Regions from separate parts of the Homo sapiens genome. Here regions 1, 2, 3, 5 and 6 are each linked to region 4. The links are contacts of gene promoters, found by promoter capture Hi-C in human tissues and cell types (Jung and others, 2019). All regions are on one chromosome and are shown on one strand. The core of a region is centred on a gene start or on the middle of the fragment in contact, and the rest is flanking DNA. Distances in the headings are between cores, read along the strand shown.

Region 1 (4,029 bases), core at 434-2,933, 460 kb after region 4:
GCTGAACCCCAAATTTGAGTGTTAGTTAGGGAGCCTCCATTCTGTGGGAGAGTGTGGAAAGGCACTCTTTTTTCTCCATATTAGTTAACAAGAGGTGTCTTTAGGCCCTGGATGTTACCATCTCATTTGGTCAAGCCCCTGATACCTAGTTTCACATGGATGCTAACGTGGATGTAATATAGTTGTGACAGCCTATGCACAAAAGCATTACCTGATCTTAAGGTTTGGTATTCTAACCAAAGTTGACAGACTGTGCGTCTGTCTTAATGGATGTCTTAGGAGTTGGTTATTCTCTCTTTTTTTTTTGAGACGGAGTTTCGCTGTTGTTGCCCAGGCTGGAGTGCAATGGCGTATCTCCACTCACCACAACCTCCGCCTCCTGGGTTCAAGGGATTCTCCTGTCTTAGCCTCCTGAGTAGCTGTGATTACAGGCATGCGCCACCATGCCTGGCTAATTTCATATTTTTTAGTAGAGACAGGATTTCTCCATGTTGGTCAGGCTGGTCTTGAACTCCTGACCTCAGGTGATCTGCCCACCTCGGCCTCCTAAAGTGCTGGGATTACAGGCATGAGCCACTGCACCTGGCCGGTTATTCTCTCTTTACAGATAGCTATAGACATCATTTTAGGAAGTGTTGCAGTCTGGCATTTGTGCTATTGTTCATTCTCTGTGAAGGCTGTTCATAGTTGCTATAGCCTGTGTTTAGTTTTGTGATTTCATCAATCCCATCTTTCTGTGTGAGTAATGCATTCTAAACATCCTACCCCACTTTAGAAACGGACGTGGGGAACGCTTGGTCATTTAAGCCAACAATAAATTTAGGTGAATGTCCCTAAGTGTTTACTGTTTTTATCCAGTCAAGGATTTGCTTTTCCTTGAACATTTGTTTTAAATTCTGGGGCCAAAATGCAAAGGAGAAGTTCTATTCAAAGGCAGTAGTTGAAATCTATTATTTTAGTTAGCCTACTTGGCATTTACTACATCGGTCACTTCTCCAGGCTGCCCTAAATTAGGTTGATGGAGTGAGACATGCCAAACATCCACCTTTGGGACCATAGCATAGTTAAAATTAAATGTAGTTGGAATAGCTAGCATTGCAGCTACAGTAGGGAACTGTAGTCTAGTTCCCTACAGAAAACCCAAGGAGTGAAGGGACAGGATTTTGCCTAGGCAAAAATCTAAGACTCGTGCCCTCCTGGTACATGGGGTTTTAAGACTGAATGTGTAATAGGAGCACTGCCTTTGCCAAATCAAATGAGTGACAGGTTAACTAGAAAATGTGACAATCACATTTCCTCTTAGCTCAAATAATTCTGTTTTTCCAAAGCTTTAGCAGCTTAATTAAATCTGTTGGACTGGGGGAGGAGAGAGCTGTTCTCTAGTGGTTAACATGGTATTCTTTAAGAAGAAAAAACAAAGCCAAAGAAAACTCATTATCTGGCATGTTCGCCTTAAAGATGGTACTGGGTAGAATCTGGAGTTTTCATCTCTTTTCAAAGCTGCATATCTCTTATATTTGGTATTGGCCTCTAAGTCTAATATTGCAGTTGGAATTCTTGCTGTATTATTTTTTAAGCAAGTGTTAGGTGCATTTAACTGCTTTCTTCATCCATGACGACATTCCCACCATGGGGGTCTTGACAAAGCAGAGTAAAAATATGCTGTTTACATTGTTTACTTACAAGTAAGGAGCCTGAAATAACCTGTAGTTTCGAATGCAGGCCCTGATTTACTGGCGTTGTCAGTTTCAATTATGAAACTGAAGTTTGGTGCCTCCTCTTTATCATGTTTTTTCCCTTGTAGCAGTTGTGTTTAATGTCATTAAAAAGAAATAAAAGTTCTTTGTCAGTGACATATGTACTGTGGCGGTCTGTCGTAGGCTTCGATGGAGGGTTATTTGCCTTCTTCCTTTGCGTAGGTAGGTTAGTGGGGTGGGGAGGGGGGCGGCAGTTAGTAGAATGTGGTACTGGAAAGGCGAGGGTGCTTGCTCCCTATTCTTTTGAAGGTAAATTACAGTGTTGAGAAAGGTGTTCTAGCAGTTAAGAAATGTTGAAATTGATTGGGATTTGCAGCTACATATGGTGCATGTCAGGAGCCTGACATAGGGAGAGCCTGAAATATCATTATGCCTCAGTTTTTGCAGAGGGGGAAGATGGCTCAGCCGTGATCAGGCAGGCATTGCCTTTTATTCCTTCCCATGGCTGTGTGATTGGCCTCCCTATCTCTGCTTCTCCAGAGCTAGCATTGATTGTGGAAGAAGCCATGCTATCCAAGAGCATTCTCTCTTTGAAGGGGATGTAAGAAACCAGAATCAGTGGTACAGAATTGATGGTTGTTCATAACCCAGTTTCTCCAGAAACTGCGGCTTCTAAAAACTGGGTGAAGGTTGGATAAGCGTGGGTAGATGTGGGAGACACAGTGTTCCTTAGATCCCTTTCGTGAACCAAAGCTTCTTAGACTTACCCCCAGAAGCAAGGAAAAAAGGGAAGGCAATAATAACTTGTCACCTATATTAGCCAGTGCTTTAAAAATCTGAGTTCATGCTGAGAAAACAAGTAGCAACATGTTTAGCCATGCTATCTGGCCTGCTGTGCTATAAGTTTTGTCTATAAATTCTAGACAAAATATAATATTGAGTCCATGCAAAAGACTCAATATAAGTTTGCTAAGTACTCAGCAACTTGACATTCTTGTCTCAATCTGAGGCACTCTCCTTAACCTATGCATATCTGTTTTGTTCCTATCAGGTGTAGATAGGATCTTTTGTCCATTTTACATTACGGAAAAGTGAAGAGGAAAAGGAGAGATGGACCTTCTCCAAGAGGAAGGGGGTCATTCTCTAATTAGCCTATTTTGAGCTTTTATAGGAAGAAAAAACCCAACCACCTAAAGCTAGAAAGTGGAGTTCCCTGCTTCTCTTAGTAATGTTCTGCTTTTCTAAGAGAAAACAATTATTCCTAAGCTGATTTTAGTGTATGCTTGCTTTGTATGCCAGAGCACCTGTCAGGGAAAAAAAAAAAAAAATTCCACTTGTCACAGGAAGTATCAGCTGGTCAGTGGTGGAATTCCTAAATGAATAGGCTCCTGCCTTGTCCTTCCTCCCCACCTGTCCTCCCCCTGTGACAACTGGGACATGCCATAGACGGAAAATCTGGCCCTTCCCAGCACCCATTGAAAGGGGGTGGAATATAATATTTTGGATAACCTTTAAAGCAGTCTAAGTGATAGTCCTGAAATATATCACTAAGGAACTATTTGTTTTGAGACAGCGTCTCACTCTCTTGCCCAGGCTGGAGTGCAATGGCGCGATCTTGGCTCACTGCAACCTCTACCTCCTGGGTTCAAGTGATTTTCATGTCTCAGCCTCCTGAGTAGCTGGGATTACAGGTGTGCGCCAACACACCTAGTTAATTTTTGTATTTTTAGTAGAGACAGGGTTTCACCATGTTGGCCAGGCTGGTCTTGAACTCCTGGCCTCAAGTGATCTGCCCCACCTTGGCCTCCCAAAGTGTTGGGGTTATAGGCGTGAGCCACTGCACCTGGTTAGGAACTATTTGTGTACAGTTTTCCTTCAACTTAACTTCAAGTCACATTTGAAGGTTTGGTAATATTTTGTATGGATGGAGCTTGATGGAGCTGGGCAAGGGAGGAGGGTGAGCAGGGTGTCCCATTTATAGAAGCAATTTGTTCTTGGAGGCTACTTAAATGCACATTCCAGTAACCATCAAATAGGTTTAAAGAGAGTCAGAAATCTAAAGCTCATGTTAATGGGTTGGTGAGATTTTGCACATTTTTGTAAAGGGTTGAACCAAAACTCTTAAAAATGCATTCTTGAGAAGGCCCATTCTGAAAAACTAGGGGACAAGAGTAGGAGGAGAAAAGGACTCTTGCCTCATAGAAACACTCACCAGTCTGTCTTCCTTCCCTCAGACCCTGAGGTTTCCCTCGTGCTCCTAGGAGGATGCACCTTGGCTCCTATTGTAGGAAGTAGGTAGAGTCTGGGAATCTTCTAAATTCTGTTTTTGGCA
Region 2 (3,787 bases), core at 181-2,680, 440 kb before region 4:
GCTTTCACTTCAGGTTCACAAACAAGACAGCATCTTCCCAGGCCCTCCTGAACCCAGAATAAGGCCTTAGCTACTCCTGGGTCTCTCAACAGCAGCCAGGCCTTTCTCTGGAATCTTGTTTGACACAAACTTTTTGCCTTTGGACAAACTCTCTCCTTCCCTCCGTATCCCAGGCCTCAGGAGAGTCGAAACCCTGACTCCCATTCTCACTGTCCACTCATTTCTCAGTCCCTGTCATTTGACTTCTGCCCAGCCACTGAACTGTCTGTCATCACACTCAGTGATGATCTTTTCATCACCAAATCCAAAGACTTTTTCCAGGCCTTTCCTACTTGCCTCTTCTAAACAGTCAGCGCTGTCGACCACTTTCTTTCTTTCTTTTTTTTTTTTTCTGAGACGGAGTTTCACTCTTGTTGTCCAGGCTGGAGTGTACTGGCGTGATCTCGGCTCACTGCAACATCCGCCTCCCAGGTTCAAGTGATTCTCCTGCCTCAGCCTCCTGAGTAGCTGGGATTACAGGCGCATGTGCCACCACACCCGGCTAATTTTTGTATTTTTAGTAGAGACAGGGTTTCACCATGCTGGACAGGCTGGTCTCGAACTCCTGACCTCAGGTGATCCACCCACCTCAGCCTCCCAAAGTGCTGGGATTATAGGCGTGAGCCACCGTGCCCAGCCTGTTTTGTTTTTTTGAGAGGGAGTCTCACTCTGTCGCCCAGGCTGGAGTACAGTGGCGAGATCACAGCTTGCGGCAACCTCCACCTCCCGGGTTCAAGCAATTCTCCTGTCTCAGCCTCCTGGGTAGCTAAAATTACAGGCGCCCACCACCACGCCGGCTAATTTTTGTACTTTTAGTAGAGACGATGTTGCACCATGTTGACCAGGCTGGTCTCAAACTCCTGACCTCAAGTGATCCACCCACCTCGGCCTCCCAAAGTGTTGGGATTACAGGTGTGAGCCACCGTGCCTGGCTTCTTTTCTTTCATACTTATTTGTTTATTTTTTTTTTTTTGAGATGTTGTTTCATTCTTGTTGCCCAGGCTGGAGTGCAATGGCGCGATCTCTGCTCACTGCAACCTCCACCTCCCGGGTTCAAGTGATTCTCCTGCCTCAGCCTCCCAAGTAGCTGGGACTACAGGCATGTGCCGCCACACCCAGCTAAGTTTGTATTTTTAGTAGAGACGGGGTTTCTCCATGTTGGTCAGGCTGGTCTCAAAGTCCTGACCTCAGATGATCTGCCCACCTCGGCCTCCCAAAGTGCTGGGATTACAGGCATGAGCCACCGCGCCCGGGCTTGTATTTAATTTTTTTAAATAGAAACGGGGTCTCCCTATGTTGCCAGGCTGGTCTCAATCTCCTGGCCTCAAGTGATCCTCCTACCTCAGCCTCCCAAAGTGCTGGGATTGCAGGCATGAGCCACCATGCCTCACCCTGACCACTTTCTTTCTTAACTCTCCTTCCTGAGCTTCTGTGAGGCCACAGACCCCGGTTCTTCTCCTCCTTCTCTCTTCCTTGGTTGCTGGCAACATTCCAGCCCTTAAATGTCACTTCTCATAGTTCTGCTCTTAGCCCTCTTCCCTTTCTACCCCTCACGCTCCCTCCCACTTTTAAGCTGTGCCTGTGTCTTCAACCTCTACTTCTTTGCTGATGAATTCCCAGACTGTATCTCAACCACAGATCTTCCCCCCAAGAGCCACCCACCTGTCAAGCAGCTCCACTTGCACGCTGCCACATACAGCAAGCTCAACGAGGCCAAAACTGAACTCTATATCTTCCCCCAAACCTGCTCCTCCTAGGTTCCCAATCTTGATGAATGACACCACCTTTTACCCTGTTCCCCAAGCCAGAAGCTCAAATGTCACTCTTGCTTCTGCCCAGCCCAGCCCACCAATCACCATGTTCTTAACATCTTATAAATAAACCTCCCCTCTCCCCTCTGTCTCCACTGTTTCTCTTTTTCTTTCTTTTCTTTCTTTCTTTCTTTTTTCTTTCTTTCTTTCTTCCCTTCCCTTCCTTTCTTTCTTTCTTCCCTTCGCTTCCCTTCTCCTTCCTTCCTTCCTTCCTTCCTTCTTTCTTTCTTTCGTCTTGCTCTGTCACTCAGGCTGGAGTGCAGTGGCACAATCACAGCTCACTGCAGCCTCAGCCTCCTGGGCTCAGGTGATCCTCCCACCCCAGCCTTCCAAGTAGCTGGGACTACAGGTACTTGCCACCATTCCTGGCTAATTTTTGTGTTTTTTATAAAGATGGGTTTTCGCCATGTTGCCCAGGCTGGTCTTGAACTCCTGGGCTCAAGTGAGCCTCCTGCCTCGGTTTCCCAAAGTGCTGGGATTACAGGCGTGAGCCACCAAACCTGGCCTGTCTCCACTGTTTCTGCTTCAATTTAGGCCCTCATCATGACCTGAAGCCTGGATTGATACATTTTTTGGTGGTGGTGGTTGTTCTTTTTTTTTTTTTTTTTTTTTTGAGACAGAGTCTTGCTCTGTTGCCCAGGCTGGAGTGCACTGGTGTGATCTCGCCTCACTGCAAGCTCTGCCTCCTGGGTTCAAGCCATTCTTGTATCTCAGCCACCCGAGTAGCTGGAATTACAGATGTGCGCCACCACACCCAGCTAATTTTTGTATTTTTAGTAGAGACGAGGTTTTGCCATGCTGGCCAGGCTAGTCTAGAACTCCCGACCTCAGGTGATCTGCCCACCTCGACCTCCTTGAGTGCTGGGATTAGAGGTGTGAGCCACTGCATCCGGCCTGTTTTTTGTTTTTCTTGAGACAGGGTCTCACTCCCAACGCCCAGGCTGGAGTGCAGTGGCACGATCATGGCTCACTGCAGCCTTGACTTCCCAGGCTCAGATGATTCTCCCACCTCAGGCTCAGATTCTCCCACCTCAGCCAACCAACCGGCTGGGACTACAGGCACGTGCCCCTATGCCTGGCTAATTTTTGTATTTTTTGTAGAGATGGGGTTTCACCCCATTGCCCAAGCTGGTCTTGATCTCCTGGGCTTCAGCAATTCTCCTACCTCAGCCTCCCAAAGTGCTGGGATAACAGGTGTGAGCCACCACACAGGCCTATTATTACATGTCTCATAAGGGGGCTCTCAGCCTCAATCTCTTCCCCCTTGGTACTAAACTCCTTTCAAGTATCTGCCCATCTAGACTCCCTTTCCCCAGACCCCACAGTTGCCCATAGGCCTTGCTGAAGAGGTCCCCCTACACTCTCGCTGACCTTGCTGACGCCTGCCCTGCTATTGCCACAGTGTTTTGAACCAGGGGTGCCCATCTGACCCACACTGGGCTGAATTATATCTCTTGGGACTCTGAAAGTGGGACATAGTGACTCTAGTTCAAACACTCCCAGGGGTCACAATAGTAATGACAATGAGTGAAACAGCCCAGTGAGAGACAATGGGGAATGGCGGCAATTGTGGCAAATGGAAAGCGTGTGCCTCGGCTAAAGGTAGCAGCTGCGTCTCTGCTCTAGCAGATGGTTGCCATGGGAATATGGGCCCAGACTTGTCAGATATTCTGATTTTCCAGATTTTTGTGTGAGATTTCCCAATTTTTGAATTTGGGGCACTAATTCATTTTTGTAAATGCCACAGGCTAAGAATATTTTTTTTACATCATATTTGGCCTATAGGGCTGCCAGTTTGCAGTTGGTGCCAGAGAGTCAGGTTTAGGCATAGGACTCAAAGCTGGAGACAGCCACTTTCTGCCATGTGTATGGAGAAGCAGAGGAAGCCCTCTGCAGAGCAAGAAGAACAAAACCTATTCCTGCTGACTCCTTGCCCC
Region 3 (4,219 bases), core at 236-2,735, 400 kb after region 4:
CGTGCCATTGCACTCCAGCCTGGGCGACAAGAGCGAGACTCCATCTCAAAAAACAAAAACAAAAACAAAACAAACAAAAAACAAAACAAAACCCAACAGGGCAGCAAATCTTGAGCGAAGGGAAGTAAGGTGACCACACTTGCCTTGGGCTTTCTCACTGAGGGTATTTCTTTGCAAACCAGGTGCTGATAAAAAGAGACCAAGCAGACAGCGAAAGACTAAGCAGAGGAAACAGCTATTGGAGTTCAGGGCTGGAGGAGGCTAGGGATTGGGATGGGTTCCTCAGCCTATGTCAAAATTCCCCACTGATTTCTTGGCTGACTCATAGCTGTGTATGCACATAGTGAGATACCAGGAAGTCTGGCAGAGAACAGGTTCTGGGAGGCTGGAGACCTGGGCAGAGATTTTGGAGGCTGCACAGTATTGGGGAGACAGAGATGGAAGTTTAGCTCCAATCAAAGTAGAGAAGGCTTTGTGAACACCATGATATTTCAGTTTGAGTCTCTAGAAAGGCCATGCTCTAGGAACAAGGACCACACCACAGGAGTAAAGGCTAAGCTGAAGTAGACGTTCTAACAAAGCCTAAAACCAACCCCTGACAGAACCCAGGTGATAAGTCAGTAATTTAGCAATCTACAGAAAACATAGCATCCTACAAACACAATCCGGAGGGTCTACAATGCATCTATAATCCCTTTGATACACACATACAAAAAAATACTAGAAATGGGAAGCAGAGAAAAGTGGCTGACAGTTAAAATAGCCAATAGAAGCAGATTCAGAAACAATCCAGATATTGCAATAAATAGACCATGATGCCAAAATAACTGTGATTGGTAGGTTAAAGAAAATAAGCAGGGCATGGTGGCTCATGCCTGTAATCCCAGCACTTTGGGAGGCCGAGGCAGGCGTCAGGAGATCGAGACCATCCTGGCTAACACGGTGAAACCCCGTCTCTACTAAAAATATAAAAAATTAGCTGGGCGTGGTGGTGGGTGCCTGTAGTCCCAGTTACTCGGGAGGCTGAGGCAGGAGAATGGCATGAACCCAGGAGGCGGAGCTTGCAGTGAGCTGAGATTGCGCCACTGCACTCTAGCCTGGGTGACAAAGCGAGACTCCATCTCAAAAAAAAATAAAAATAAAAATAAATAAATAAATAAATAAAAGAAAATAAGAGTACATAGGCAGAATAGGCAGGAAAAACAAACCAAAAAGGAAATAAGAAAAGGCAGACAAAATGGATGAAAGAGAATTGTAAAAGACAATTGGAATCTATAAAAAGAATCAAATGGAAGTTCTAAAATGTCACAATACAATACTGGATTTAACAGAAGACACGATTGATAAACTTGAAGAAAGTTCAATAGAACATATCCAAAGTAAAGCACAGAGGGAACAAAGAAAGGAAAACAGCAGAACAGAATATGAGACATGAGTTTTATAAAGTCCCTAGAGGAGAAAGAGAATAAGAGAGAAGCAGTATTTGAGGAAATTATGGCAGACAATTTCCCAAATTTGATGAAAACAAATCCACTGATTCAAGAAGCTCAGCAAAATCTAAGCAGGATAAATACAAAGAAAACTATAGCTGAAAACATCATAGCTGGTCAGGCACAGCAGTTCACACCTGTAATCCTAGCAATTTGGGAGGCCAAGGCAGGCAAAGCGTTTGAGCTCAGGAGTTTGAGACTAGCTTGGCCAACATGGTGAAATTCCATCTCCAAAAAAAAATACAAAAATTAGCCAGGTGTGGTGGCACATGCCCATAGTCCCAGCTACTTGGGAGGCTGAGGTGGGAGGATCATCTGAGCCCAGGAAGTCAAGGCTGCAGTGAGCCAAGATCAATCACTCCAGCCTGGGCAATGCAAGCAAGACCCTGTCTCAAAGAAAACAACAACAAAAACATCATAGTAAAATTGCTGAAAATCAGAAACAAGAAAAAATCTTAAAAGCAGAGAAAAGACATATTATCTGTAAAGGAGAAACAATAAACTTAGAGGTGACTTTTCAGTCGAAACTATGGAAGCCAGAAGGCAATGCAATGATCCTTTAAAAGTGCCAAAAGAAAAATAATTGCAAACTTCCAATTTCATACCCAGTGAAAGAAATTGAAAGATGTTTTCAGATAAAAGAAAGCTGAAAGAACTCATTACTGAAAGAACTGCACTACAAACACATACTAAGTGGGGGCTCTTTAGGTTGAAGGAAAATGAACTCACACAGAAGCAAAGAACTGCAGACAAGAATCAAGAGTATCAGAAAGGGGAAGTAGGGGTAGATATAGATGAAAAGTGACTTAAAAAACAATTACAGGCTGGGCGCAGTGGCTTACGCCTGTAATCCCAGAACTTTGGGAGGCCAAGGTGGGTGGACAGCTTGAGGTCAGGAGTTCAAGACCAGCCTGGCCAACATGGTGAAACCCCATCTCTACTAAAAATACAAAAATTAGCCGGGCGTGGTGGCGGGCACCTGTAATCCCAGCTACTCAGTAGGCTGGGGCACGAGAATCCCTTGAACCAGGGAGACGGATGTTGCAGTGAGCCGAGATCATGCCGCTGCCCTTCAGCCTGGGTGATAGAGGGAGACTCAGTCTCAGAAAAATTAAAAAAAAAATGGTAGTAAAGTCTTTAAGATTTATTTTATTTTATTTTTGAGACAAGGTCTCTCTCTGTTGCCCAGCCTGGAGTGCAATGGTGCGATCTCAGTTTACTGCAATCTCTGCCTCCCAGGCTCAAACAATTCTCCTGTGTCAGCCTCTTGAATAGCTGGGATTATAGGTGCACACCACTGCGTCTGGCTAATTTTTGTATTTTTACTAGAGACGGGGTTTCATCATGTTGGCCAGGCTGGTCTCAAGCTTCTGACCTCAGGTGATCTGCCTGTCTTGGCCTCCCAAAGTGCTGGGATTACAGGAGTGACCCATTGCGCCCAGCCAAGGGATTTAAAATTTATGTCAAAAATGAGTTTTGAGGCTGGGTGCGGTGACTCATGCCTGTAATCCCAGCACTTTGGGAGGCCGAGGCAGGTGGGTTACGAGGTCAGGAGATGGAGACCAACCTGGCCAACATGGTGAAACCCCATCTCTACTAAAAATACAAAAATTAGCTGGACATGGTTGGGAGCCTGTAATCCCAGCTACTCGGAAGGCTGAGGCAGGAGAATGGCTTGAACCCGGGAGGCGGAGGTTGCAGTGAGCCAAGATCACGCCACTGCACTCCAGCCTGGTGACAGAGCAAGACTCTGTCTCAAAAAAAAAAAAAAAAAAAAAAAAAAGATGAGTTTTGCCAGGCGCGGTGGCTCACGCTTGTAATCTCAGCACTCTGGGAGGCCAAGGTCGGAGGATCATGAGGTCAGGAGACCGAGACCACCTTGGCTAACACGGTGAAACCCCGTCTCTATTAAAAATACAAAAAATTAGCAGGGTGTGGTGGCGGGCGCCTGTAGTCCCAGCTACTTGGGAAGCTGAGGCAGGAGAATGGCGTGAACCCGGGAGGTGGAGGTTGCAGTGAGCCGAGATGGCGCTATTGCACTCCAGCCTGGGCGACAGAGCAAGACTCCATCTCAAAAAACAAAAAACAAACAAACAAAAAATGAGTTTTACTCCAACTGTTGTTGGAGGAAAAATGTAGTAAAACTGTTTCTTGCATTGTTGGGCAGTGGTAAAAATATCTAACTTAAACTGTAATAAATTGCAAGGATATGTGTTGTAATCTCTAGGGCAGGGATGGGCAAACTGTTTTAGAAAGGGCCAGTTAATAAAGATTTTAGGGGCTGGGTGCAGTGGCTCACGTCTGTAATCCTAGCACTATGGGAGGCCAAGGCGGGCAGATCATGAGGTCAAGAGATCAAGACCATTCCTGGCCAACATGGTGAAACCCTGTCTCTACTAAAAATACAAAAATTAGCTGGGTGTGGTGGCACGCGCCTGTAGTCCCAGCTACTTGGGAGGCTGAGGCAGGAGAATTGCTGGAACCCAAGAGGCAGAGGTTGCAGTGAGCCAAGATTGTGCCACTGCACTCCAGCATGGGTGACAAAGCGAGACTCCCTCTCAAAAAAAAAAAAAAAAGATTTTAGGCTTTATGGGCCACATATGCTCTTTACTGCTTATTCTTCATCTTTTTTCACAATCCTTAAACAATGTAAAAACCATTCTTAGCTCATGAGTCATACAAAAACAAGGTATGGGCCAAATCCCTGCTTTAATAATAAAAGGAGGTCC
Region 4 (4,144 bases), core at 93-2,592:
TATTTAGGTGAGGTCAGAAGCTTCCTGGAGTTGGCCCTGAAGCAGGACTCATCCCAATTGCTTGAGGTAAATAGTAATCAACTTTTCCCACAATTCAGTTGGGCTGATTTTGACAAATAAGCATGAAATGAAACAGGAATACACATTGGCAAATTACCCACTGGCACAGCCAAATATCACTCATCCCACAGAGATTGTTCAGCAAGAAGGCCTTCCACTCTCTGGTGATTAATCTCTCTCTCTCTACTGCCCGTTGCATAGCCCCTACTTAGAACTCATCAGGCACCAGTGTGTATGGCTCATGCTCATCTCTGGCTTGGGTTCTTGCTTTTCATCCTGTCTAGGCAGGGTTGCCCTTGATGAGGTTCCTTCTCCACAGGGGCCTTCCCTGGTGAGTTACTGACTAACCAGAACAGACAAGGTGCCCCTGTACTTTCCTTTCACAGAACTTACCACAACGGTAACTAAACAACTATTTGTTTGGCTACTCGGTTAATGGCTGTCTCTCCACTAGACTGTGAGCTTTGTAAGGCCCAGGATTACATCTGTTTGGCTGAAGTCTGTATCCTCAAGACCTATCAGAGTGCTGGTTGTCGCATATACTCTAATATTTGAATGACTATACGAGTAAGTTTTTTTACTGCTAGAATCTTTTCCTTCAAGACCTGTATCAAATGCTCTCTCTTTCACGAAGAAACTGAATTTCCTGAGCTGGAATAAATTGCTCCTTCCTATGGATTCCTACAAAACGTTCGTTAACTCCAGCCTTTAAAACCATCTTTATTTCACTGTGGCTAGTATCACACTGGTTTGCGTCGAGGTCTGTCTTCCCGTGGACCGGTAGAGGCTAAAAGAAAGGCCCAGGTCAGCCTCATCCTTGAGACTTAGCGCCCGCAAAAGTTGGGCGGGGCTGGTTGGACCAGGTTGCATTGAGGCGGCGCAGGGCCCTGCTGAGGGAAGAAGGGCACGGGCCCGGCTTACCTTCTCTTTGACTGCTTGGTAGCTCTGCTGCAGCCAGCTCCGCCACCATCCCACGTCCTCCCTGTGGAAGACAGACACATCTGGCAGCACCGCGGTGCGATTCCTGCCCGCCCAAGGATCCGGTTTGTTCCCCGCTCAGATGTACCCTGCGGGCCGAGGCTTCGCAGACCGCTTGCCCACCCCCTCACAATGCGACTCCACTCTGCCCTTTCAGATCAGTCCACGCCCCCGCTGATCTCACGTTCCCCACCGGGACTCTCGCCCAGCACCCCAACCCTGGGAGAATTCAGGCCCCAACGCCTAGGAGCAAAACGACAAGCTCACCCTTCCGCCATCTTGCCTGCATGACATCACCACTATTTACTGACCTTTGACTTCCGACACGGCACCGCCCCCTCAAGGACCGCCCCCGAGGCGCTCGGCCCAATCCTCGCGCCGGCACCGCCCTCAGCCCAATCCCCTCCCTGCGCCATCATTAGGTCCCGCCTCCCTGAACTCTATCCAGTCTCTGTCCCGAGTTCGCCCTCAAACTCCGCCCCTGAACTCTCAGTTCAATCGTCATTCAGTCCTGTCCTCAGGCTCCACCAAGCTTGACTCTTTGTCACTGTCCGCAAACGTCGGGTACGGTGGCCTCTATGGACGATGATCAGCCGACAAGCTGGACTGCGGAGAGCTGGGAGCAGAGGGGAGGAGGAGAGATAGCTCGAACGTCAGGATCCCAGAGCGCAGGGTTAGGACCGCCCCCCTTTGTGAAACCAGCTGCGTAGAGGCTGCTTTGTGTCTCTTTGGGCTAATTCAATAAGCCCATATTGCGGGGCTGTGGCCCAGAGTTTGGAGGAATGTGAATAATTCAGAGGCGACTTAGATGCAGCCTTTGGAGGGCTTACGGGTTAATGGGAGACACACACATTCAGTAATCTCAACTTTCGGTGGCCCAGCTCAGAACAACGCCAGGTGGAGGTGGTCTGGAGAAATCCGGAGACCGCCTGGATTGAGTTCTACTGCGATTGGAAGGGAGATTCCACAGCCCACATACTTTGGACTTTAATTAAGGTCAGCCCCTCCACGTGTGCGGTAGATCCCATCGCCTCTTGTTTGCTTAAGGACATAGATCTAGTAATCCCCCCTTCATCTCTTTTCCCTCTGATGACTGCATTTATCCTTGTCATCATCCGTACTGCTGTTTCTCCCATCTCAAAGGCAAACAAAAACCAGCCCTCTCTATATCCCTCACCGTTTCCCTACTCCCCTTTACAGCAAAAGCGTTGCCTACTCACAGTCTGCAACTCCCCTCTCCTCCCATTCTCTCTTGAACTCACTGCAGTTAGGTTTTTGCCTCTCAGACAATCCTTTGAAATAACTTTCTTTTATTTATTTAATTTTATTTAATTTTATTTATTTTATATTTATTTGTAGCTCTGCTGCAGCCAGCTCCGCCACCATCCCACGTCCTCCCTGTGGAAGACGGACACATCTATTTTATTTATTTATTTATTTTTGGTCCTCCCTGTGGAAGACGGAAACATCTATTTTATTTATTTATTTATTTTGAGTCAGAGTCTTGCTCTGTTGCCCGGGCTGGAGTGTAGTGGTGCAATCTCAGCTCGCTGCAACCTCTGCCTCCCGGGTTCAAGCGATTCTCCTGCCTCAGCCTCCCGAGTATCTGGGATTACAGTTGTGCACCACCATGCCCGACTAATTTTTGTATGTTTAGTAGAGATGGGGTTTCACTATGTTGGCCAGGCTTGTCTCGAACTCCTGACTTCAGGTGATCTGCCCTCCTCAGCCTCCCAAAGTGCTGGGATTACAGGCATGAACCACTGCACCCAGCCTGACATAACTTTCTTAAGGTCGCCAAGAGGAATGGCCACTTTTCAGTTCTTGTTTTACATCCGCATCTTATTTGACACAGTTGACCACTTTCTTCATTTGGCTTCCAGGACATCATGCCCTCTTGACTTTCTTCCCCGTTCATTGGCATCTCAGTATTCTTTGCTGTTTTCTCACCGCCTTCTTGTTGCTGGAATGGGATATTCCCTGGGAGAAGGCTCAGCCCTTGGTGTCCTCCTCCTTTTTGATGTTTATAGTCATTCCCCAGATATTCTCATAAAGTCTCATGATTTTATTTATTATTATTTTTTAAGATGGAGTCTCACTCTATTGCCCAGGCTGGAGTGCAGTGGCATGATCTTGGCTCACTGCAACCTCTGCCTCCTGGGTTCAAATGACTCTCCTGCCTCAGCGTCCAGAATAGCTGGGATTACAGGCACCCACCACCACACCCAGCTAATTTTGTATTTTTAGTAGAGATGGGGTTTCACCATGTTGGCCGGGCTGGTCTTGAACTCCTGGCCTCAGGTGATCCACCCACCTCGGCCTCTGAAAGTGCTGGGAGTACAGGCGTGAGCCACTGCTCCTGGCCCATTTTATTTTATTTTTAAGACAGGATCTTACTCTGTCGCCATATTAGTCCATTTTCACACTGCTAATAAAGACATACCTGAGACTGGGCAATTTACAAAAGAAAGAGTTTTACTGGACTCACAGTTCCACATGGCCAGGGAGACCTCACAATGATGGAGGAAGGTGAAAGGCACATCTCACATGGTGGCAGACAAGAGAAGAGAGCTTGTGCAGGGAAACTCCCGATTTTAAAACCATCAGATCTCATGAGAACCATTCACTATTATGAGAAAAGCACGGGAAAAACCCGCCCCCACCATGATTCAGTCATCTCTCACCAGGTCCCTTCTACAACACGTGGGAATTATGGAGCTACAAGATGAGATTTGGGTGGGAACACAGAGCCAAACCATATCAGTTGCCCAGGCTGGAGTGCAGTGGCACGATCATGGCTCACTGCAGCCTTGACTTCCTGAACTCAAGCAATCCTCCTGCCTCAGTCTCCTGAGTAGCTGGGACTACAGGCATGCACCATCAAGCCCAGCTATTATTATTTTTTTAAATAGAGATGAGGTCTCCCTGTGTTGCCTTACTTTTAATTTTTCTTTAGCAGTGCTTCACTATGTTGCCCAGGCTGGTCTCAAACTCCTGGCCTCTAGTGATCCACCCACCTTGGCTTCCCAAAGTGCTGAGATTACAGGTGTGAGCCATCTCACTAATCTCATACTTTTAAATGCCATGTATATGCTGATGGCTCTCA
Region 5 (3,871 bases), core at 784-3,283, 300 kb after region 4:
GGTTTCACCGTGTTAGCCAGGATGGTCTCGATCTCCTGACCTCATGATCCACTCGCCTCTGCCTCCCAAAGTGCTGGGATCACAGGCATGGGCCACTGCACCCGGCCTCTGGAGTACAAACTCTTTGAGGGCAGGAGCATTACCCCCACCCCGCAACACACACACACTTTTTTTTTTCTTTTCTGAGACGGAGTCTTGCTCTGTTGCCAGGCTGGAGTGCAGTGGCGCAGTCTCGGCTCACTGCAACCTCTGCCTCCCGGGTTCAAGCAATTCTCCTGCCTCATCCTCCCGAGAAGCTGGGAACACAGGCACATGCCACCACGCCCAGCTAATTTTTGTATTTTTTAGTAGAGATGAGGGTTTCACCATGTTGGCCAGGATGGTCTCGATCTTTTGACGTGATCCGCCCGCCTCGGCCTCCCAAAGTGCTGGGATTACAGGCGTGAGGCACCTCGCCTGGCCTTTTTTTTTTTTTTTTTTTTTTTTTTTTTGAGGTGAGTCACTGTCACCCAGGCTGGATTGCAGTGGCACAATCTCAGCTCACTGCAACCTCTGCTGCCCAGGTTCAAGCTATTCTGCCTCAGCCTCCTGAGTAGCTGGGATTACAGGTGCCTACCACCATGCCTGGCTAATTTTTTTGTAGTTCTAGCAGAGACAGGGTTTCACCATCTTGGCCAGGCTGGTCTTGAACTCCTGACCTTGTGATCCACTGCGCCCGGCCACACATACTATTTCTAATTGCTATTGCCAGCACATAGCTCACTGCCTGGCCCACAGTAATTAGGCACTTAGAAACTGTTGAATTGATGAAGGTGATGATAGAGGCAACGTTAAGAGTGGAGTGCAGCCTAAGGATTAAAGGGACACCCTTAGGAAGTAAGCTGATGGGCCGGGCGTGGTGGCTCATGCCTGTAATCCCAGCACTTTGGGAAGCCGAGGCGGGCAGATCACAAGGTCAGGAGATCAAAACCATCCTGGCCAACGTGGTGAAACCCCATCTCTACTAAAAATACAAAAATTAGCTGGGCGTGGTGGCGTGAGCCTGTAGTCCCAGCTACTTGAGAGGCTGAGGCAGGAGAATCGCTTGAACCCGGGAGGCAGAGGTTGCAGTGAGCCAAGATTGTGCCACTGCACTCCAGCCTAGCAACAGAGTGAGACACCGTCACAAAAAAAAAAAAAAAAAAGTAAGTTGATGAAATAGAACTTTAGCAAACAGTTTAGGAAGCCATTTCAGAAAGAAAAATTAGGGACCTCAGACCTTGCTTCCTACTTTAATGATGGTATAGCAACAAGAGAAGCTATTATACTACCAAGAGTGTATCAGGCCAGATAAAGTGGCTCACACCTGTAATCTCAGCAACTCGGGAGGCTGAGGCAGGAAGACCAAGACTTCCTCTCAATAGAGAAAGATTCATTTGATAGAGATTAGATAGACTTCTGAATATTCTTTTTAAAACTTTGTGTCATAAGATTATCTTTGGAAAACAATCCTTGGGAAGATGCACAAATCGTCAAATCTGAAACCATCTTAACCTCTTCCTTAGAGTAGCTTTCTAATTATTCTCCATTGCTCTGCATCTCTAGCCCACTTTATATCCTGCCACCAGTACTTCTTGTAATCCCAGCACATTGGGAGGCCGAGACGGGTGGATCACGAGGTCAGGAGTTGGAGACCAACCTGGCCAAGATGGTGAAGCCCCATCTCTACTAAAAATACAAAAATTAGCGAGGCCTGGTGGCGGGCACCTGTAATCCCAGCTACTTGGGAGGCTGAGGCAGGAGAATCACTTGACCCGGGAGGCGGAGATTTCGGTGAGCCAAGATCATGCCACTGCACTCTAGCCTGAGTGACAGAGCAAGACTCCATCTCCAAAGAAAAAAAAAAAAAAAAGTAGAGAGGCAGGCAGTGGCTCAAGCCTGTAATCCCAGCACTTTGGGAGGCCGAGCCAGGCAGATCACCTGAGGTCAGGAGTTCAAGACCAGCTGGCTAACATGGTAAAACTTCATCTCTACCAAAAACACGAAAATTAGGGCCGGGCGTGGTGACTCATGCCTGTAATCCCAGCACTTTGGGAGGCCGAGGCAGGCAGACTGCCTGAGCTCAGGAGTTCAAGACCATCCTGGGCAATACGGTGAAACCCCGTCCCTACTATACAAACAATTGGCCGGGCTCAGTGGCTCACACCTATAATCCCAGTACTTTGGGAGGCCGAGGCAGGTGGATCATGAGGTCAGGAGATCAAGACCATCCTGGCTAACATAGTGAAACACTGTCTCTAATAAAAATAGAAAAAATTAGCCAGCTATGGTGGCATGCACCTGTAGTCCCAGCTACTCGGGAGGCTGAGGCAGGAAAATCGCTTGAACCCAGGAGGCAGAGGTTGCAGTGAGCCCAGATCATGCCACTGCACTCCAGCCTGGGTGACAGAGCGAGACTCCTTCTCAAAAAACAAAAAAAAACAACAAAAAAAATTTGCCAGGCGTGGCACTGTGCACCTGTAGTCCCAGCTACTCGGGAGGCTGAGGCAGGAGAACTGCTTGAACCCGGGAGGTAGAGGTTGCAATGAGCCGAGATCACGCTATTGCACTCCAGCCTAGGCAATAGAAGAGACTCCGACTAAAAAAAAATTAGCCACGTCCATGGTGTTAGGCGCCTGTAATCCCAGCTACTTGGGAGGCTGAGGCAGGAAAATTGCTTGAACCTGGGAAGTGGAGGTTGCAGCAAGGCGAGATCGTGCCACTGCACTCCAGCATGGGTGACAGAGGGAGACTCCATCTCAGAAAAAAAAAAAAAAGTAGCAAGGCAATCATGTTACTTCCCTGATTAAATCCCTTTAATGATGCAGCAGACTACTGAATAAAGTCCAAAACTCAAGCTTGTCACCTGCAGCCAAGTTACTAATTATATTTCAGATATGTTGAGTTAGATAAAATATATTTAAATTAATTTTACCTATATCTTTTCTCCCCTGCTCCCCTCAGGCTTAGCTCAGCTGAATTTTTGCCTATTTTAATGTGGCTATTAGAAAATTTGTAATTATTTATGTGACTTGCATTATATTTCTGTTGGGCAGCACTGGTCTAGATTCTCCCTATGCTTTCATACCTAGCTCAAATTCCACCTCTTTTTTCATGAAGAGTTCTCTGATTTAACCAGCGCCTAAAAATAATCTATCCCGGCCGGGCGCAGTGGCTCATGCCTGTAATCCCAGCACTTTGAGAGGCGAGGCGGGCGGATCACAAGATCAGGAGATGGAGACCATCCTGGCTAACACGGTGAAACCCCGTCTCTATTAAAAATGCAAAAAATTAGCCTGGTGCGGTGGCGGGCGCCTGCAATCCCAGCTACTCGGGAGGCTGAGGCAGGACAATGGCGCGAACCCGGGAGGCAGAGCTTGCAGTGAGCTGAGCGCCACTGCACTCCAGCCTGGGCAAGAGTGACAGACTCCGTCTCAAAAAATAATAATCATCATCATCATCATCATCTATCCCACAGCCCTTTTACCTGCACCTCTCATAAATCACCTATTACTTTCTTCTCTGAGATACAACTATTAATGTAATGTCTGTCTGAGTATTGGCTGTTAAGGATAGTATTGATGCTAAATAAATGACTTTTCACTAGACTGTGAACCAATTTTTTAAAAAATAGGGTAAGGGGAATATGAAGAGTTTAAAAACATTCAGTATTACTTCTGGGTGTGGTGGCTTACGCCTGTAATCCCAACACTGGGAGGCTGAGGCCGGTGGATCACCTGAGGTCAGGTGTTCGAGACCAGCCTGACCAACATGGTGAAACCCCATCTCTACTAAAATACCCAAATTAGCTGGGCATGGTGGCACAGGTCTGCAATCCCAGCAACTTGGGAGA
Region 6 (3,949 bases), core at 1,123-3,622, 270 kb after region 4:
TATGTAGTGGTTACCCCTTGCTCTGTGGGCTCTGTGCCAACTGTGGCTTCTCCTCCTTTGTTATTGGTGCCTCTTTTCTGGCAGCTATGCTTCTTTTTTTGTTTGTTTGTTTGTTTTTTGAGACAGAGTCTCACTCTGTCGCCCAGACTGGAGTGTAGTCGTGCAATCTTGGTTCAGTGCAACCTCTGCCTCCCGGGTTCAAGCAATTCTCTTGCCTCAGTCTCCTGAGCAGCTGGGACTACAGGCACGTGCCACCATGCCCAGCTAATTTTTGTATTTTTAGTAGAGATGAGGTTTCACCATATTGGCCATGCTGATCTCAAACTCCTGACCTTGTGATCCACCCGTCTCGGCCTCCCAAAGTGCTGGGATTACAGGTGTGAGCCACCGTGCCCAGCCACTTTTTTGGGGGTGGTGGTCATTGGCCTTTGCAGTTGTATATGTGCATATCTCAGAGATATGATGGGGGTTCAGTTCCCAATCACTGCAGTAAAGCAAATATATAAAGCAAACCACACAAATTTTTTGTATGTTTACACTATACTATAGTCTCCTAAACGTGCAATAGCATTATGTCTAAAAAACAATGTACATACCTTAATTTGAAAATACTTCATTGCTAAAAAAAATAATAATAATAATGCAGACACAGAGGCACCAACTGAACACATGTTGGGAAAATGCCACTAATAGACTTAGTGCAGGGTTGCTGTAACCTTCAATTGGGGAAAAAAACTTATGTGTGACGCACAATAAAACGAGCTATGCCTGTACTTAGACTGAAGTTTCTTGAGGTACGTACCATATATGCCTTGTTTTTTCATAGATTGTAGATGCTTGTGGGCTGGAGTTATGGAAAAAATTAGGGATTTTTTCTCCTTTAGAATCTATCTTGAATTTTTATTTTTAGGTTTTTAGCCTGTGTGAAACATTTTGCTTTTCAAAAGTTATTTTGAAGTTGAAAGTTATCTAATACGCCAGCCATACCACCCATGTATATCTTTGCTTTCTGAAAAGATGTTTGTCCTTCAAAGAATAACACTAGGCCCGGCCCAGTGGCTCTCTCCTGTAATCCCAGCACTTTGGGAGGCTGAAGCGGGTAGATTATCTGATGTCAGGAGTTCAAGACCAGTCTGGCCAACATGATGAAACCCCGTCTCTACTAAAAATGCAAAAATTAGCTGGGCGTCATGGCACATGGCTGCAGTCCCAGCTACTCAGGGGGCTGAGGCAGGAGAATCGCTTGAACCCAGGAGGCAGAGGTTGCAGTGAGCCGAGATCGTGCCATTACACTCCAGTCTGGGTGACAGAGCAAGACCCTGTCTTTAAAAAAAAAAAAAAAAAGCACTATATAGCAATGCAATTGACAGAATATTTTTATTTATTTTTAAGTTACTCTCACAACTTCTTTGCTTTGTGGATAAGGTATTTGATGCTCAGAGAAACTGAAGGCCTTCCCTGAATCACCAAACTAAGTAAGTGACAGAGCCACTTAGGGGCCTGGGTCTGACTCTTACTTTGGAACTTTTGCAACCGTACCATGCTGCCTTCTATTATTCTTTGATCATTAACTACCTTTATTTATATATTGCTTTGCCAAGATTTACATAATCACACATTATATTGTTATATATACTATAATGGTACTTGAGAGAACTCTCTAAGTGCACATAGTAGTCATGTGTGAATAAAAAATGTTTTCATCTAGTTGTTGCCTACCTGGTTTATTTCAACCAGGGACTTTTGTTGGCATGTGTAAGTGGGTGTAGCAAAATGGAACTGGCTGCTGTGGCTCTGTTTTTCCTCACTGAAATAAAAGAAACACTGTAAGGAGAAGATAAACGGCATGATGGTATTTCAGAACATTCATCCCAAGCTAGAGCTTCATACAAGCAATGCAAGAAGGGCACTTTAGTGTTTAGCACACTGTGTACTTAATATTCATTATAGTAGTAGCATTGGTTTTATTTATTCAGCATACTTATTTACACTTTGAAATTTGAAAACTTTATTTTTTTTTTTTTTGAGACGGAGTCTTGCTCTGTGACCCAGGCTGGAGTGCAGTGGCACGATCTCGGCTCACTGCAACCTCCGCCTCCCAGGTTCAAGCAATTCTGTCTCAGCCTCCCCAGTAGCTGGGGACTACAGGCGCCTGCCACGACGCCCAGCTAATTTTTGTATTTTTAGTAGAGACGGGGTTTTACCATATCGGTCAGGCTGGTCTCGAACTCCTGACCTCAGGTGATCTGCCCGCTTCAGCCTCCCAAAGTGCTGGGATTACAGGCGTGAGCCACTGCGCCTGGCTGAAAACTTTATTAAGATCTGTTTTTGAAGTATGTGGGCGAAGGATTACCCAGGTGCCGAGGCAAGAGACTGAAGGCACAAACTGTTTCAGTATAATAAAGAAAATAGTTAGAATAAGAATAGTTAAAATACAAAGTAGATATAGAGATGATCATGGACATTATCAATCATTAGTATAAACATTATTAATCATCAACTTTTAATATTACTCTTTGTTGTATTACTAATATAACCAAGGAATAACCGGCAGGTATAGGATGAGGTGCTGAAGGGACATTGTGAGAAGTGACCTAGAAGGCAAGAGGTGAGCCCTCTGTCACGCCCGCATAAGGGCCACTTGAGGGCTCCTTGGCAAGCGGTAACACCATTGCCTGGGAAGGTACCCATTACTTAGCAGACTGTGAAAGGGAGCCTCCCTTCCCTTGGAGTCAGGGAACACTCTGCTCCACCAACCAGCTTCTTGTGGGAGATTGGATATTATCCAGGCCTGCCCACAGTCATCCGGAGGCCTAAACCCCTCCTTGTGGTGCTGTGCTTCAGTGGTCATGCTCCTTGTCCACTTTCATGTTCCTCCCGTACTCCTGATTCCTCTTTGAAGTTGCTAGAGGATAGCAGTAGAAAAAATAGTGAAAGTCTTAAAGTCTTTGATCCTTCTGATAAGTGCATAGAAGAAAACGCTGACGTATGCTGCCTTACCTCTCTGCTTCAGCTGCCTGAAAGGGAAGGGCCCCTGTCCCATGATCATGTGACTTGCTTGACCTTATCAATCACTTGGACGACTCATCCTCCTTACCTCGCCCCCTTGTCTTGTATGCAATAAATATCAGCGCACCCAGCCATTTGGGGCCACTGCCGGTCTCTGCGTCTTGGTGGTAGTGGTCCCCCAGGCTCAGGTGTTTTCTCTTTATCTCTTTTGTCTTGTGTCTTTATTTCTTATGATCTCTCATCTCCGCACACGGGGAGAACACCCGCTAAGCCCCGTAGGGCTGGACCCTACATCAGTAGAATTCTAGTTTTCCTTAATTTCAGATAGTAATATAATACAGCCATCCCTCAGAATCCGTGGGGAATTGTTTCCAAGACCTCCTTTGGATACCAAAATTCACAGATGCTGAAGTCTCTGATACAGCATGGCATAATGTTTACACATAACCTATGCAGATCTTCTCATATACTTTAAAATGTCTCTAGATTACCTATAATACCTAATATAATGTAAATGTTATATAAATAGACTATATTGTTCGGGGATAATGATGAGGGGGAAATCTGTACATGTTCAATACATATGCAATGTTTTTCTGAATATTTTCAATTAATGGCTAGTTGAATTCATGGATAAAGAACCCACTGATATGGAGAGCTGACTGTATTTCTTATTAGTTATTTAACTACCTGGAGTCACGGGGGTAGGAAAGCACTTTATAGTGCTAGCAAATGTATAGATTACATCTAGTATTATGCCAGTTTGTTGCTAAGGAAAAAAAATCCTTTCCTGTGTTCTTATACTCTGGGTAACCTCTAGAGTAGCTCTTGTTTTGTCCTCATTTGCAATTAATTTATTCACAGAATTTGGAGGTTTTGGTTCAGTTAGTGGAAAAATTGAAATAGAAATCAAGATCAACCATGAAGGAGAAGTAAACAG

The links. The method cuts DNA at HindIII sites, captures the fragments that hold promoters and counts their contacts. A contact is called where the count stands out against the background at its distance.
Region 1: a contact is called between a fragment that was not itself captured here and the fragment with the promoter of BSDC1 in region 4, in 1 of the 25 tissues and cell types used here (pancreas).
Region 2: a contact is called between a fragment that was not itself captured here and the fragment with the promoter of BSDC1 in region 4, in 1 of the 25 tissues and cell types used here (hippocampus).
Region 3: a contact is called between a fragment that was not itself captured here and the fragment with the promoter of BSDC1 in region 4, in 1 of the 25 tissues and cell types used here (H1 embryonic stem cells).
Region 5: a fragment that was not itself captured here is called in contact with the fragment with the promoter of BSDC1 in region 4 in 4 of the 25 tissues and cell types used here (heart right ventricle, hippocampus, mesendoderm cells and 1 more).
Region 6: a contact is called between a fragment that was not itself captured here and the fragment with the promoter of BSDC1 in region 4, in 1 of the 25 tissues and cell types used here (aorta).

Annotation. Positions count from the first base shown.
Region 1 is chr1:32,857,023-32,861,051 of GRCh38, forward strand. It overlaps S100PBP (S100P binding protein), which reads left to right. Exons shown (of 7, transcript NM_022753.4): 7 at 1-1,853. Among named protein-coding and RNA genes, the nearest start is that of FNDC5, 12 kb to the right of the region's middle. The HindIII fragment of the contact is 3,770 bases long and covers 1-3,568 here.
Region 2 is chr1:31,956,260-31,960,046 of GRCh38, forward strand. No RefSeq gene overlaps it. Among named protein-coding and RNA genes, the nearest start is that of PTP4A2, 20 kb to the left of the region's middle. RefSeq lists enhancers at 1-337, 1-174, 1-321. The HindIII fragment of the contact is 3,956 bases long and covers 1-3,408 here.
Region 3 is chr1:32,791,756-32,795,974 of GRCh38, forward strand. The region is part of intron 5 of YARS1 (tyrosyl-tRNA synthetase 1); the gene reads right to left. Among named protein-coding and RNA genes, the nearest start is that of YARS1, 23 kb to the right of the region's middle. The HindIII fragment of the contact is 7,246 bases long and covers 1-4,219 here.
Region 4 is chr1:32,393,099-32,397,242 of GRCh38, forward strand. It overlaps BSDC1 (BSD domain containing 1), which reads right to left and starts at 1,343. Exons shown (of 11, transcript NM_018045.8): 1 at 1,306-1,343; 2 at 982-1,042. The coding sequence starts at 1,316. RefSeq lists enhancers at 384-1,081, 1,069-1,358, 1,082-1,777, 1,649-1,728, 2,476-3,171. The HindIII fragment of the contact is 8,966 bases long and covers 796-4,144 here.
Region 5 is chr1:32,688,774-32,692,644 of GRCh38, forward strand. All of the region lies in intron 2 of SYNC (syncoilin, intermediate filament protein), which reads right to left. Among named protein-coding and RNA genes, the nearest start is that of SYNC, 12 kb to the right of the region's middle. RefSeq lists an enhancer at 69-569. The HindIII fragment of the contact is 7,163 bases long and covers 1-3,871 here.
Region 6 is chr1:32,664,352-32,668,300 of GRCh38, forward strand. It overlaps RBBP4 (RB binding protein 4, chromatin remodeling factor), which reads left to right. Exons shown (of 12, transcript NM_005610.3): 4 at 3,874-3,949. Among named protein-coding and RNA genes, the nearest start is that of RBBP4, 15 kb to the left of the region's middle. The HindIII fragment of the contact is 8,987 bases long and covers 1-3,949 here.